Regions from separate parts of the Homo sapiens genome. Here all the other regions are linked to region 2. Evidence: promoter capture Hi-C in 16 types of primary human blood cells and fetal thymus (Javierre and others, 2016). All regions are on one chromosome and are shown on one strand. The core of a region is centred on a gene start or on the middle of the fragment in contact, and the rest is flanking DNA. Distances in the headings are between cores, read along the strand shown. Region 1 overlaps DOCK5 (dedicator of cytokinesis 5). Region 2 holds the start of PPP2R2A (protein phosphatase 2 regulatory subunit Balpha). Region 3 overlaps DOCK5 (dedicator of cytokinesis 5).

Region 1 (4,106 bases), core at 1,257-3,756, 1.1 Mb after region 2:
CAGCCCTGTTTGCACCTTGACTTCCTAACTCCCATCTCCAGAACTGTGAGAGAATAAACCCCCACTGTCTTGAGACATCAAGTGTATAATTTGTCACAGCAGCCACTGAAATCCACTACAGTAGCATTATTCACAATAGCCCCCAAAATGGAAATAATTTATTAACTGATGAAAGGATACACAAAGTATGGTATATCCATGCAATGGAATACTATGCAGCAATGAAAAGAAATGGAATACAGACACATACTGCAACGTGAATGAACCTCAAAACATTACACTAAAGGAAAGAAGCCAGATGCAAAAGACCACATAGTTTATGACACCATTTATTCAAAATGTCCAGAATTTAGCAAATCTATCAAAGGCAATATAGGAGATTATTGGTTGCCTGGGGCTGTGAGGAGGGAATGGTGATTGACCACAAAAGGCCCTAAGGAGCTTCTTGGGGAGATGAAAACATCCTAAAACTGGGTTGCGGTGATATTTACACAACTCTGTAAATTTACTAAAAATCAGTGAATTATATGCTTAAAACGGGTGGATTTTATGGTATATAAATTACACTTGACGGAAGCTGGTTTTTTTTTTTTTTTAAGTAGATTTACTTCTTACCCTCACTCTACTGATGAGGGAACTACATCTTTCCAGGAAAAAAGAACTCCCTTAGAGATTCAGCTCTAGCCATGGACTTGACAATCCAAGGAACCCATAAGGCTCCCATCTCTGCAGGCCTGATGAGTGGCCATCCACACTGATGAATGGATAGTCACTCAGTCCATCAGTATATCCCACAGGGAAGAAAGGCGTCCTTGACATTGCCAGTGGTGGGTCTTCCCGGCTCTTCCCAGCTCTTCCCTGGGCCTGCAGTGCACCCTGCACCTGCAGCTTGGCTTACATCACAGTCAACCTCTCAGTGAGCAGGAAGGAGCACACGTCCAGCCACCTGTTTTCCAGTGGCCTCTCCTTGATAAAGGAAGTCATCCAAGTAGTGCTCTCCTGCACTCCTGGCACAGAAGCCTGGACAAAGTATGTTGGAATTTATTTTACTATTGAGCTTATGGACTAGGCTATGAATTTACAACCAGGATTGGCTGGTGACATAGGTTAGGAGAAATCGCACGCGATTCAGAAGTAGGAGTAATTCCCAATTCCTAGACTTTCTCATGGGTAACTGGGCCACCGCTGCTATTCCAGTGGAGTTCAACTCCTTCATTCGTCTGCTGGTTTACGCAAATGCTCTGCCTGCTAGTTTGGCAGACCTCATATCCTTGACATCTCCTACTCCCTATTCATGGCCTTGTACTGAAATGGTCCCTTCCATTGGCCCCCTTCTCAAATGAAAACAGGAAGTAGTGAGGTCACTGAGTCACAATGCATTGTGTAATGACCAAGCTTCACCTCTTCCTGGTTCCGGTCATTGGAAAAGTAAGCAGAAGCTCTCAAAGGCAGCACCTTGCACTGGAAGCTCCAAACACAAACACCTACCAAGGACTGCTGGAAACACACACACACACACACACACACACACATACACACACACACACACACACATATACACGCACACACCAAAGACCGGTTTGCTTAAAACCTAGATCTCTAAGCCTGACCCAAAATACCTCCAAAATTGTCCCAGCCCGTAATTATCTGTCTTTGTCTCCACTATCTGCGAAATTCCAGCCTACTCTCCAGTGAAGACTCCTATGTTCTCCCCTAAATTCTGAGCTCAGTCCATGGTTTGTTTCTGCCTAGAACAAGGGCCTGTCTTGATTTGTAACAATCCAAATCTCACATCCACAATGCAATTCAACAAATGGCTACTAGCTCCCGATTACCTGCGTGGATCTCTTTCTTCTCTGACATTCCACAACAATTTTCCCTTCCAGCGCAGTTTGGGTTTTTAATCATAGACAATCTTGTGTAATTGTCTGCCATCAATTAGAAGGAAATCCCTATGATTGGGGCCCTCGTTACACATTACTTTTGTGTCTTTCTCATTACAAGGCACAGGCTTAGTCCCAAAGAAAGTACTCAAGGTATAATAACGATGTCAGAAAAGAATATATTTTAAAAACACATATTTTTATCTCTTCTATAAAATCCATCAAAAAATTCAGTTATTCACCACTTCTTCCCCAAACTCAAACACACTTCTGCTTTCCTCCAGAGCAGAGGCTGTGGTTTCCCATCACTCAAGAAAGGGTTACTAAAATCACTTCTCCATCCATTTGGTTTATCACAAGAGAGAATCTGCCTCTCCAACCTAAGCTTTCAAAGAGATTCATGTTAGAAGCACATCCCTTCAAGAATGCCTTTCACTGGAATGAAAAGTCACCGCTTAGAGGATGTTTGTACAATCTGTTTCATGTCTCTGGGCAAAAGCACAAACAAGATTTCCAATCACCGCCGTCATCTATTCATTCTAACTCTTGGGTTTGGTAGTATGCCCTCCATATCATAATATACCTCACATTTCCAGCGTATTTCATAGTTTACTTTCATATATATCTTAGTAATTGTATACAGTGGATGCCAGGTGTCACATTATTTAATGCGGAAGCTGAGACTCAGAAGGGTTAAACCCAGCTTGCAAGCAGCAAAGCTGTTATAAAGCTGGTCTATTCATCACATTTGACCAAGCCAGTCCATAGTGGTGAAGATATGCCCTGGAATAGCCCAGAAACAAAGAGAAGAGCCTAGATTTCTCTCTTTAAATGACCATCCTACTTCCCAAACCAAGCTTTCTCATCACACACATCAGTGACTGGTGATCACATTGTCCGCTAGTCTGATGCTATTTCAAGAATGAGAGTACAGCTAATGCACTTAGTGGGCCCATAGTTTCTTTCTAGAACATGAATAACTGTTATAGAGAAAGCTAGAGAAATGGGAAACCAAGAAAAACCTCAGGGTAAGCAAAACGGATTCAAGACTCAACTTTACCACTTACACAATGCATGACCTTGAATGAGCTACTAAGCCTAGGCCTCAGTTTCTTATCTGTAAAACAGGATTGCCTTTAAAGAGCCCTCTGGTTCTAACGCCTTCTGATTCACGGGGTAATGAGAAGAGGCAAAAGAAACATGTGCCATTTTTGAACCGGCAGGCACCACCACAATCTCTTGTTTTGACTGAGGAAATTAAACAAGAACCGGGAGTTGCTGTACATACGTTGCCTCGCTGGCTGCCATGAACAGCACTGGGAAAGACAAATTGCTGGAATTCTTCCCTAAGCAGCTTACTGTTTATAACAGGAAAGTATAATTTTGCAGAGCCAAGTAGACAAGACAAAATAGTTTGCATTTTACTGAATCTTTGATTTGGCTCTTTCTTTTAAACCAGGCTTACATGAGAGAAGAAAACTGAAGTCCTGGGATTATGCAATAAGAAACCAACAGAACAGACTTACTGGCTGCAAACTGAGTGATCAGTTTTGACAATGAAAAGTCTGTAGGCTAGAAAGTAATAAATATTTCTTTTTTTATGTTTATTTTTTATTTTTTTGAGACAGGATCTCACTCTATCAACCAGGCCAGAGTACAGTGGCACAATCGTGGGTCACTGTAGCCTTGACCTCCCTAGGCTCTGGTGATCCTCCCGCCTCATCCCCCCAAGTACCTAGAACGACAGGCATGTGCCACCACACCTGGCTAATTTTTAAAATTTTTTTGTAGAGACAAAGTTTCACCATGTTGGACAGGCTGGTCTCGAACTCCTGGGCTCATGTGATCCACCCACCTTGGCCTCCCAAAGTGCTCAGATTACAGGCATGGGACATCCAGTCCGGCCAAGTAATGAATATTTCTAATGAATGAGATTATTACATGAATCCTCAAATTACAATCCCCTGAAGAATAGCTACATTATATTTTTTATTAGTCACCTGATAGAATCTACAAAAGAAAGATCCAGCAAACACAGAATGAGATACCCATTGGAGACATATATCATTCATAATATTCCAAAGATGACTATGGCCAGGCGCAGTGGCTTATGCCTGTCATCCCAGAACTTTGGGAGGCCGAGGCAGGTGGATAAGTTGAGGTCAGGAGTTCGAGACCAGCTTGGCCAACATGGTAAAACCCCATCTCTACTAAAAATACAAA
Region 2 (4,241 bases), core at 844-3,343:
ATGGTATCCATGGTTGGCATGATACTAACAGCCTAGTTCTGCCCACACATACAACTACCACCAAGAGCACCAGTTTGGAAAGAGGTTAGTCCCCAATACTTGGTACTGCATTAGAAAGAAAAAAAAGATTCCAGGTACGAAATATTTAAAGGCACATGTTCTGTGGTCATTAAACATCTGTTCACAAACTTCCTGTCAAATACAGTAAAAGCCTTACATTCAGGCAAGACCTACCAGAAAAAAAGTAAATACCAAGAGTTAAAGAGTTTTCTTAAGTGTACAAAAAGCCTGCAGAAGAGTTAATAAGGTTAAACTACCATGAAACATAGAACGAAGAGAAAACTTCGGGAACATTACTGCCTGGGTAAGGAGTAATGATTCATATGAACCTTATCACCAAAGTGCACACACAGCAAACACTACACCCATTTCTTTGCATTCATTACCAGCAAATCACTGGCTCCAGACAGAGAGGAAAAGAAACCGAAATGAATGCTGCTAAAGAGACTGTCAAAGGAAGCTTGTTCTGCCTCCCTTCACCTCATCCCTTGACTCCAAAGGACCTGGCAAAGAATTCATTTTGCTAATGTCATCTCGTGCAAAACAATTTTAATCTCATTTCATTTTTCAACAAGGCCAACAAGCAACTTGTTTATAGCAAACCGTAAGTCAATCCGACATGTTAACTTTTTCAAAAGGTTTAATTATCTAAATAATGAATACAGCACGGAAAACTGGTCTCATCTCGGAATGTTTCTATTTCACGTGCAAGTACTGAGGTCGAAATGATTGAAAATGTCCTGGGGCTCTAGGGAGAAAGAAACTGAATCTAAATCTGCAACTGATTCTACTACATGAAGGAAAAGATTTAGCAATACCAACATGTACAAAAAGAATTCTCAAAGCAATTACATTACTTCTCTCTCCCCCATCACCCCTATTCCTTGCTAAATTTATTTCCAAACTGGTTTTCTCTCTACATCCTTTCCCCTCCCCTTCAAAGCTTCTACCTAAATCTCTCTCCTCCTTGCTATTTATATCTCTGAACTCCGCAACTATTTTAACTAACTCTACCAAACCCTTTTGGGAAAAGGACATCTGCAAAAAAGCTAACATGCTAAACGCAAAGTTTAAATTATTTTCATGCAACTTGCTGTACATGAAAGGCCTTGCACTCTTCGGCGGTAAAAGGGAAGAAACGGAAACGAAATGGTTCGAAACAAAAAATTTAGGCTTCCAGTCTCAAAAATATTGGCATCTACAGTGGGGAAAAAATACACATATGCCCCCACTGTATTTTAACTTATAAGGCGCTCTTCCTTCTCGAGGCAAAATAAATGTGTATATACACCCAAGAAGGCTTGCAGCAGGGGGAAAAATAGAAATTAAATGAAGACCTGCAGGAAAAAAAAATAAAGGCGGGGGGCAAGGTGGGGAGGTGGGAGAAGATCCACCAGGCTCCCGAGCGGGAGGGACAAATCTGCACGCACCCCCACCCCGCCCCACCCACGCCTCACCCCAAGCTCGCCGGCACACCCCACCCCCACCCCCGCCACGGCGCCAGCCCCGTTCTCCAAGCCCAGTGACTCTCACCGTGACCACTTGCCTCCCGGGAGCCCTCCCCGCCCCCACCCCACCCCTCTGGACCCTACTCCCTCAAACCCGAGGGGCGCCCTGTGGCTCTGCGCGAGGCGCGGGCGGTCGCTAGGGGGTGATGGAGGGAGGAATAAGGAAGCGGTGCCTTGTCAGGGGGCGAGGGGGATTTCTCCTTTACCTGCCATGTTGCGCTGCAAATGGTGACCCTGCTGGGTTCCTCGGGGTCTCCGCTTCCTGAACTCACCCCCCTCACCTGGGGATGGGGGGGTAGAGAGGGCGGATGGCGGCGGATGGCACCTGCGGGGGGAGGGGACGGGGGCCGGGGGGAAAAGGAAGGAGGGGCGGGCAGACCAGCCGGCAGGATGCTAGATTTCACTCTGGGGCTTCCCCGCTCGTGCTCTTTCTCCGGCAGCGGCGGCGGCGACTACGACAGCGACGGCGGCGGCGGCAGCGGCAGGGGCAGGCGACTCCACTTTCAAAATGGCGCCGGCTGGCCTGGCCAGTGACGTCACCTAGGGGGCGGAGCCGCCGGGCTGGGGCGGAGAGCGGAGGGGGAGGGGCGGGGGAGCGGCCGGGCGGCTCTTGGCCACGCCCCCTTCCTGCTGCGCCTGTGCCCCGCCCTCCGTGTCCCGGCCGGCAGGGCCTGCGCCGCGCCAGCGTCTCGCCATGGCATACCCTCTGTCCGCACCGCCTGCGCCAGGCCGCGGCTGTGTGCACCTAGCAGTGTCCCAGCCTCGAGCACTAGCGCCGGGGCTCTGGGGCGGGCTTAGGAGTCCAGTTTACGTGCTCTCCTGCAAGGATTCATGGGGTCCTATGTCTTCTAGGAATACCTGGGCCGGGCACGGTGGCTCATGCCTGTAATCCCAGCACTTTGGGAGGCTGAGGCGGGCGGATCACAAGGTCAGGAGTTCGAGACCAGCCTGGCCAACATGGTGAAACCCCGTCTCTACTTAAAAATATACAAAAATTAGCCAGGCGTGGTGGTGTGCGCCTGTAATCCTAGCTACTTGGGAGGCTGAGGTGTGAGAATTGCTTGAACCCGGGAGGCAGAGGTTGCAGTGAGCCGAGATCGCACCACTGCACTCCAGCCTGGGTGACAGAGCAAGACTCCGTCTCAAAAACAAAAAACAAACAAACAAAAAACCCCGTACTGCTTCTTAGGAAATTGTCACTTTGGATTAGCCCTGAGACCACAAAGAAAGGGACAGCGGTGCAGACTTACTGCTCAGCCGGGGTGAAAGTTCACGGGGTTCAGAGGGACACGATTGGGCTGGTTCTATCTGGGTGAATTAAATTACCTTCTCGTGGGCCCCAGGATCCAAGGCGGGAGTCCTAGGCACTGCGGACACTAAGAGTGATTTCTAAGAGAAACCTGAGTTTGTGATGAGAGGGTATGGCCCAAGAAGTGACCCGGCGTCTCTCCAGCTAAACGTGTTGGACTGCGTGCTTAAGAGCTGGGCTCAGGGCCGGGCGCGGTGGCTCACGCCTGTAGTCCCAGCACTTTGGGAAGCCGAGGTGGGAGGATCGCTTGAGGCCAGGAGTTCCGAGTTCGGCCTGGAGAACATAGGGAGACCCATCTCTCCAAAAAAAATTTTTTTTTTTAAATTAGCCAGGTATGATGGCGTGCCTATAGTCCCAGCTACTAGAAGGCTGCAGTAGGAGGACTGCTTGAGCCCAGTAGGTCAAGGCTGCAGTGAGCTATGTGATCACATCACTGCACTCCAGCCTGGGAGACAGAATGCGATCCTGTCAAAACAAAAACAAAAACACAAAAAGTGCTGGGCTCTGAAGCCAGGCTGCCTAATATGATTCCAAGGCTCAGGAGATGAAGATGACAGTCCTACCTGATAGGATTGTTGGGGAGATGAAATGACTTAATTTGAGCACATGATAAATGTTAGCTGCCGTTATTATTAGATTTGTATTGAAAGCATCGTCAGTAAGGTTAAGAGGTAGAAGGAAAAAAATGAACAGGAAATGCCAGTCATCAGCTATGAGGGGATGTGCACTTCTGTTGAAAGATGCTCTAATGATGCAGTTGCTATATACAGCACACTTTACATATCCCATTCCATCTCCACGATACTCCTAGGAGATAGATATGCACATTTTACACGTGAAAAACACCTGTAAAAGCATCCAGAATTTGGCCTAAGGCTGAATGGAGTGATAAAGGCGTTTGGAAACCAAGAAGGGGGAGTTAAAGATATTTACACGTCCTCCCCACCATCTCCACTTTCTACCATATTTTTGATTTCCAGGACAGTTGAACTGTAATGCAACGTTCAAAATTCCTTCAAAGGAACAACTGCACCACTGCATGATCATTCCTCTGTTTCTGCATGAATATTTCCCACGTTACCAATGAATTAATCAAAACTAAAAATCCACCCTCTATGTGTCATCTTTTGGCTACCTGTACAACAGGTACAAAACTTCAGTGCACTGCGTGCTGTATTTTCTTCAATGCTGGTGTTTTTCATAAATGTATTTCTCTGGGTATGCCTTCATTTATTTTCCTTTTTGCTTGCTCTGCCCTTCTTTGGTGGTTCAATCCCAGACTCTCCAGGGAGAGCTCTCCATCTTAACCAGAACCCAGAAGGAAGGAGAGAGAGAGAAAGGAAGACAGAAAAAGAGAATATAGA
Region 3 (4,452 bases), core at 47-2,546, 1.1 Mb after region 2:
TTTTTCTTCTTCTCCAAATTACTTGTGATTTCTCAGATTTTTTATTTAATTATTGAGTGTACAGTACATATGCTCTTTTTGTAAGGAATCTCAACTCCTTGTATTAGAAATGGGAAATAACAGATGAATCTAAATGTCTTGTTTCTTCCATGAGACTGCGCCTTCTTTCCTTTCCAATTCATGTGCTCAACACAGCACCAACCAATGACTCAGAACCTCCTAAACTCTGTACACCACATGGTCAAGCATTTTCTTTCCAGGTAGCCAAGTCTGCAGTGCCCCTTCCTCCATAAAGCCTCCAGAAATAATGACCCAAAAATAAAAAAGCAAATCCCATCACTTCCATCTAATAATGCAACATTTATGATTCTAAGTCCTCACCCACCCCACAGGATTCACGTAATCTTTTGCTTATGCAGTTTATTAAATCTATTTTCTCCATTACTTGAATGTCCCTTTCTCTCTGCCTTTGATGTTTCTCTCATGGGAAATACACACAGGGTGGTATTTTCCAAAGTGTGGGCAAAATCCTGCTGATGGTAAGCAAGATGAATTTAAAGAGATGATGGGGTCAGTATTCATTTATTCATACAGCATATATTCACTGAGGACTTACTATGAGCCAGGTGCTATTCCAGGGGCTGGGGCACACTGATGAAAAAGAGTTCGTGTCCTCATAACTTTACATTCTAGTATGGGAGACAGACAGTAAACACTAACAAATAAATAAAGGAAAAGGGCTAGACATTGTGAGGTGTCAGCAAGGAGGTGGGATCATGCAGCTAGGGTTCTTCTCAGAGAAGGCTCTCTCTAAGCAGGGATTATTTGAAGGAAGACCAGAGAACCGGACATCTAAAGATCTAGGGAAACACATTCCATAAGAGGGAGGAGTAAGTGCCAAGGTCCTGAGTCAAGCTGAGCTTGGCAAGTTCAAAAACCAGAAATAAAGCTGGTGTGGCTGGAATGCAGAAGGGAAAGAGGGAGGCGGCAGGTCTGATCCCACAGGGCCGGGAGGGCATGACCAGGAACTTCAGTGCCATCCCAACTGCAATGGGAAGGTGGAAGCAGGGAGGTGGCAATGTCAGGTTCTTGCCTTTAAAAAGTTCCTCTTAGCTGGGCTTGGTGGTTCATGCCTGTAATTCCAGCACTTGTGAGGCTGAGGCAGGAGAATCACTTGAGGCCAGGAGTTCAAGACCAGCCTGGGCAACAAAGCAAGATGCCCATCTTAAAAAAAAAAAAAAAAAAAAAAAAGTGATAAGGAGTCCAGTTAGAAGACCATTGCAGCTGGGCGTGGTGACTCATTCCTGTAATCCCAGCACTTTGGGAGGCCAAGGCGGGTGGATCACTTGAGGTCAAGAGTTCAAGATCAGACTGGTCAACAAGATGAAATGCCATGTCTACTAAAAATACAAAAATTAGCCAGGTGTGGTGATGCGCACCTGTAGTCCCAGCTACTCGGGAGGCTATGGCAGGAGAATCACTTGAACCCAGGAGGTGGAGGTTGCAGTGAGCCAAGATTGCGCCACTACACTCCAGTCTGGGCGACAGAGCGAGACTCCGTCCCCAAAAGAAAAAAAAAAAAATACCGTTGCAGTAGCCCTGCAGACGCTAATGCAGGCTTGCATTGAAATGGAAACATCAGCAGCAGTAATCTGAGGACATATTTTGGAGGAAGGACAGACTGCACTTGATGACAGATAGAATGTGGGGTGACTCTTAGTGTTCTGCCTGGGCCACTGGACAGACAGCAAGAAACTGGGGAAAGTGCGGTTCTGGGGTTAGAGAGGATCCAAACTTCTGTTCTGGAAGCAGGGACTGCCTGTTAAGAAAAACACTGGGAGACGCCCAGTGAACAGCTGTATGTGATCCCGAAGCACAGGGAAGGGGTCTGGGGCTATCCATGTGGAAGGCTGCAGCAAATGAATGGGAATGAGAGCCAAGGCGGGGGATGAGATCACTTGTTATCAGGTAGATAAAGGAGACACAAAAGCCAGCCAGGCTATGGCAAGACTTAAAGTTGTGGCAAAGCGGAGGGAAGGCAGGGAGGATGGAGGGTGGGGATATGGGAGGAAAACTGTGGAGAAATGGGATCAAAAGTCTAGAGAAGAAAATGTTTCTAGAAGTAAAGTCAACTGCATCCAATATGTGAACAAAAACAAACACATGGGGAAAGGAAGTGATTCCATTTTCAATTATCTTTTATTTTTTTGAGACAGAGTCTTGCTCTGTTACCCAGGCTGGAGTGTAGTGGCGTGATCTTGGCTCACTGCAACCTCCGCCTCCTGGGCTGAAGCAATTCTCCTACCTCAGCCTCCCTAGTAGCTGCAATGACAGGTGAGCACCGCCACACCTGGCTAATTTTTTTTTTTTTTTGTATTTTTTAGAGATAGGGTTTCGCCATGTTGGCCAGGCTGGTCTCGAACTTCTGACCTCAGGTGATACACCCGCCTCAGCCTCCCAAAGTGCTGGTATTACAGGTGTGAGCCACCATGCCCGGCTTCAATTATCGTTTTGTGAAACTACAGTAGATCCTCATTGTTGACAGACTCCATATTTGCGAATTCACCTACTCACTAAAATATACATGGAACCTTAAAACCAATACTCCTGCACAAGTTCCTAGCTAAGGGTGAGCAAGGTGACGCTCTGCATTCTTTTTTCAGCTAACATATTGTAAACAAGTGTCTTTTTCAGGGTCTATTTACTGCCACATTTCTCTTATTTTTCTGCCTTTTTTTTGACCAGGGTCTCACTCGCTCACCCAGGCTGGAGTGCAGTGGCACGATCACAGCTAACTGCAGCCTTGACCTCCCCAGGCTCAGATGATCCTCTCACCTCAGCCTCCCAAGTAGGTGGGACCACAACCACATGCTACCATGCCCAGCTAATTTTTGTATTTTTTTTTGTAGAGACGGGGTTGCACAACGTTGCCCAGGCTGGTTTCAAACTCCTGGGCTTAAGCAATCCTCTCGTTTCAGTCTCCCAAAGTGCTGGGATTACAAGTGTGAACCACCACATTTGGCCTCATTTTTGTGCTTTTTGCTGGTGATTTTTCTATTTAAAATGGTCCCAAGCATAGTGCTACAGTGCTGTCTAAGTACCTAAATGCAAAAAAAAAAAAGCTGTAATGTGCCTTAAAAAAAAAAATACACGTTAGATAAGTTTCTTCATTCAGGCATGAGTTACAGTGCTTTTTGCCATGGGCTCAATGTTAGTGAACCAACTATATATGTTAAATAAGGTAACTTTAAACACAAACACACATAAAATAAGGTTATGTATTGATTGGCTGATGAAAAGCTTGTGACCAGAGGCTCACAGGAACCCTGCCTCTCCCCTAGGAGCAACGGGTCAGTATTCACTAACTCAGTGTTCACTGTGACTAAATAGAACATAATTACCATGAATAATGAGAATGGACACTATACTGAAGAGAAAGATTCCATTGGGTATCAGCTTCCTCCTTTTTTAATGAAGAAAAAGCAGGTCTGGGGCTCTAGGCTTGACAGCAACAGTATCTAGCCAGAATCTAATACACCGCTTTTATTTTTGTTGCTTTCATTTTTACAATTGTTTCTTTTCTACAGCAAGTAGTGGTAGAAAGATAAGGCTTTCTTTTTCAGTAACTGCTAAAATTAAAAAAGAAAACAAGCAGACAATATAAAGAAAATATAACATAGAAAATAGTATAGGCTGAGCGTGGTAGCTGGCGCCTGTAATCCCAATACTTTGGGAGGCCAAGACAGGAGGACTGCTTCAGCCCAGGAGCCCAAGACCAGCCTGGGAAACACAGTGAAACCCTGTGTCTACGAAAACAACAACAACAAAAATTAGCCAGGCATGGTAGTGTGTGTCTGTAGTTCCAGCTATTCCAGAGGCTGAGGTGGGAGAATCGCTTGAGCTCAGGAAGTCCAGGCAGCAGTGAGCCGAGATTGCACCACTGCACTCCAGCCTGGGCAACACAGTGAGACCCTATCTCTTAAAAGAAAAACAAAAAAGAATACAGATGGAAATGGGTATAGCAATAGCCCTGAAGCTGCTACACAGTGGTACCTGAACAGGGCAAAACCAAGGTGACGATGAACAAGTGGAACTTGGGAAACACAACATGGGTTAAATATTTTGTTTTTGCTAGTTCAACCATTGTGGAAGACAGTGTGGCGATTCCTCAGGTATCTAGAACTAGAAATACCATTTGACCCAGCCATCCCATTACTGGGTATATACCCAAAGGATTATAAGTCATGCTGCTATAAAGACACATGCACATGTATGTTTATTGTGGCACATTCACAATAGCAAAGACTTGGAACCAACCCAAATGTCCATCAGTGATAGACTGGATTAAGAAAATGTGGTACATATACACCATGGAATACTATGCAGCCATAAAAAAGGATGAGTTCATGTCCTTTGCAGGGACAGACATGGATGAAGCTGGAAACCATCATT

Evidence for each region. Contacts are between HindIII fragments. The CHiCAGO score rates a contact against its expected background, and 5 or more counts as called.
Region 1: a contact is called between a fragment that was not itself captured here and the fragment with the promoter of PPP2R2A in region 2, in 1 of 17 cell types (M0 macrophages). The highest score is 6.4, in M0 macrophages.
Region 3: a fragment that was not itself captured here is called in contact with the fragment with the promoter of PPP2R2A in region 2 in 1 of 17 cell types (M2 macrophages); the score reaches 5.0 in M2 macrophages.

The regions. Positions count from the first base shown.
Region 1 is chr8:25,236,768-25,240,873 of GRCh38, reverse strand. The region is part of intron 1 of DOCK5 (dedicator of cytokinesis 5); the gene reads right to left. Among named protein-coding and RNA genes, the nearest start is that of DOCK5, 54 kb to the right of the region's middle. The HindIII fragment of the contact is 472 bases long and covers 2,271-2,742 here.
Region 2 is chr8:26,289,360-26,293,600 of GRCh38, reverse strand. It overlaps PPP2R2A (protein phosphatase 2 regulatory subunit Balpha), which reads right to left and starts at 2,093. Exons shown (of 10, transcript NM_002717.4): 1 at 1,775-2,093. The coding sequence starts at 1,781. RefSeq lists a silencer at 1,942-2,291. The HindIII fragment of the contact is 3,300 bases long and covers 1,006-4,241 here.
Region 3 is chr8:25,192,051-25,196,502 of GRCh38, reverse strand. All of the region lies in intron 1 of DOCK5 (dedicator of cytokinesis 5), which reads right to left. Among named protein-coding and RNA genes, the nearest start is that of DOCK5, 9.6 kb to the right of the region's middle. The HindIII fragment of the contact is 4,013 bases long and covers 1-3,302 here.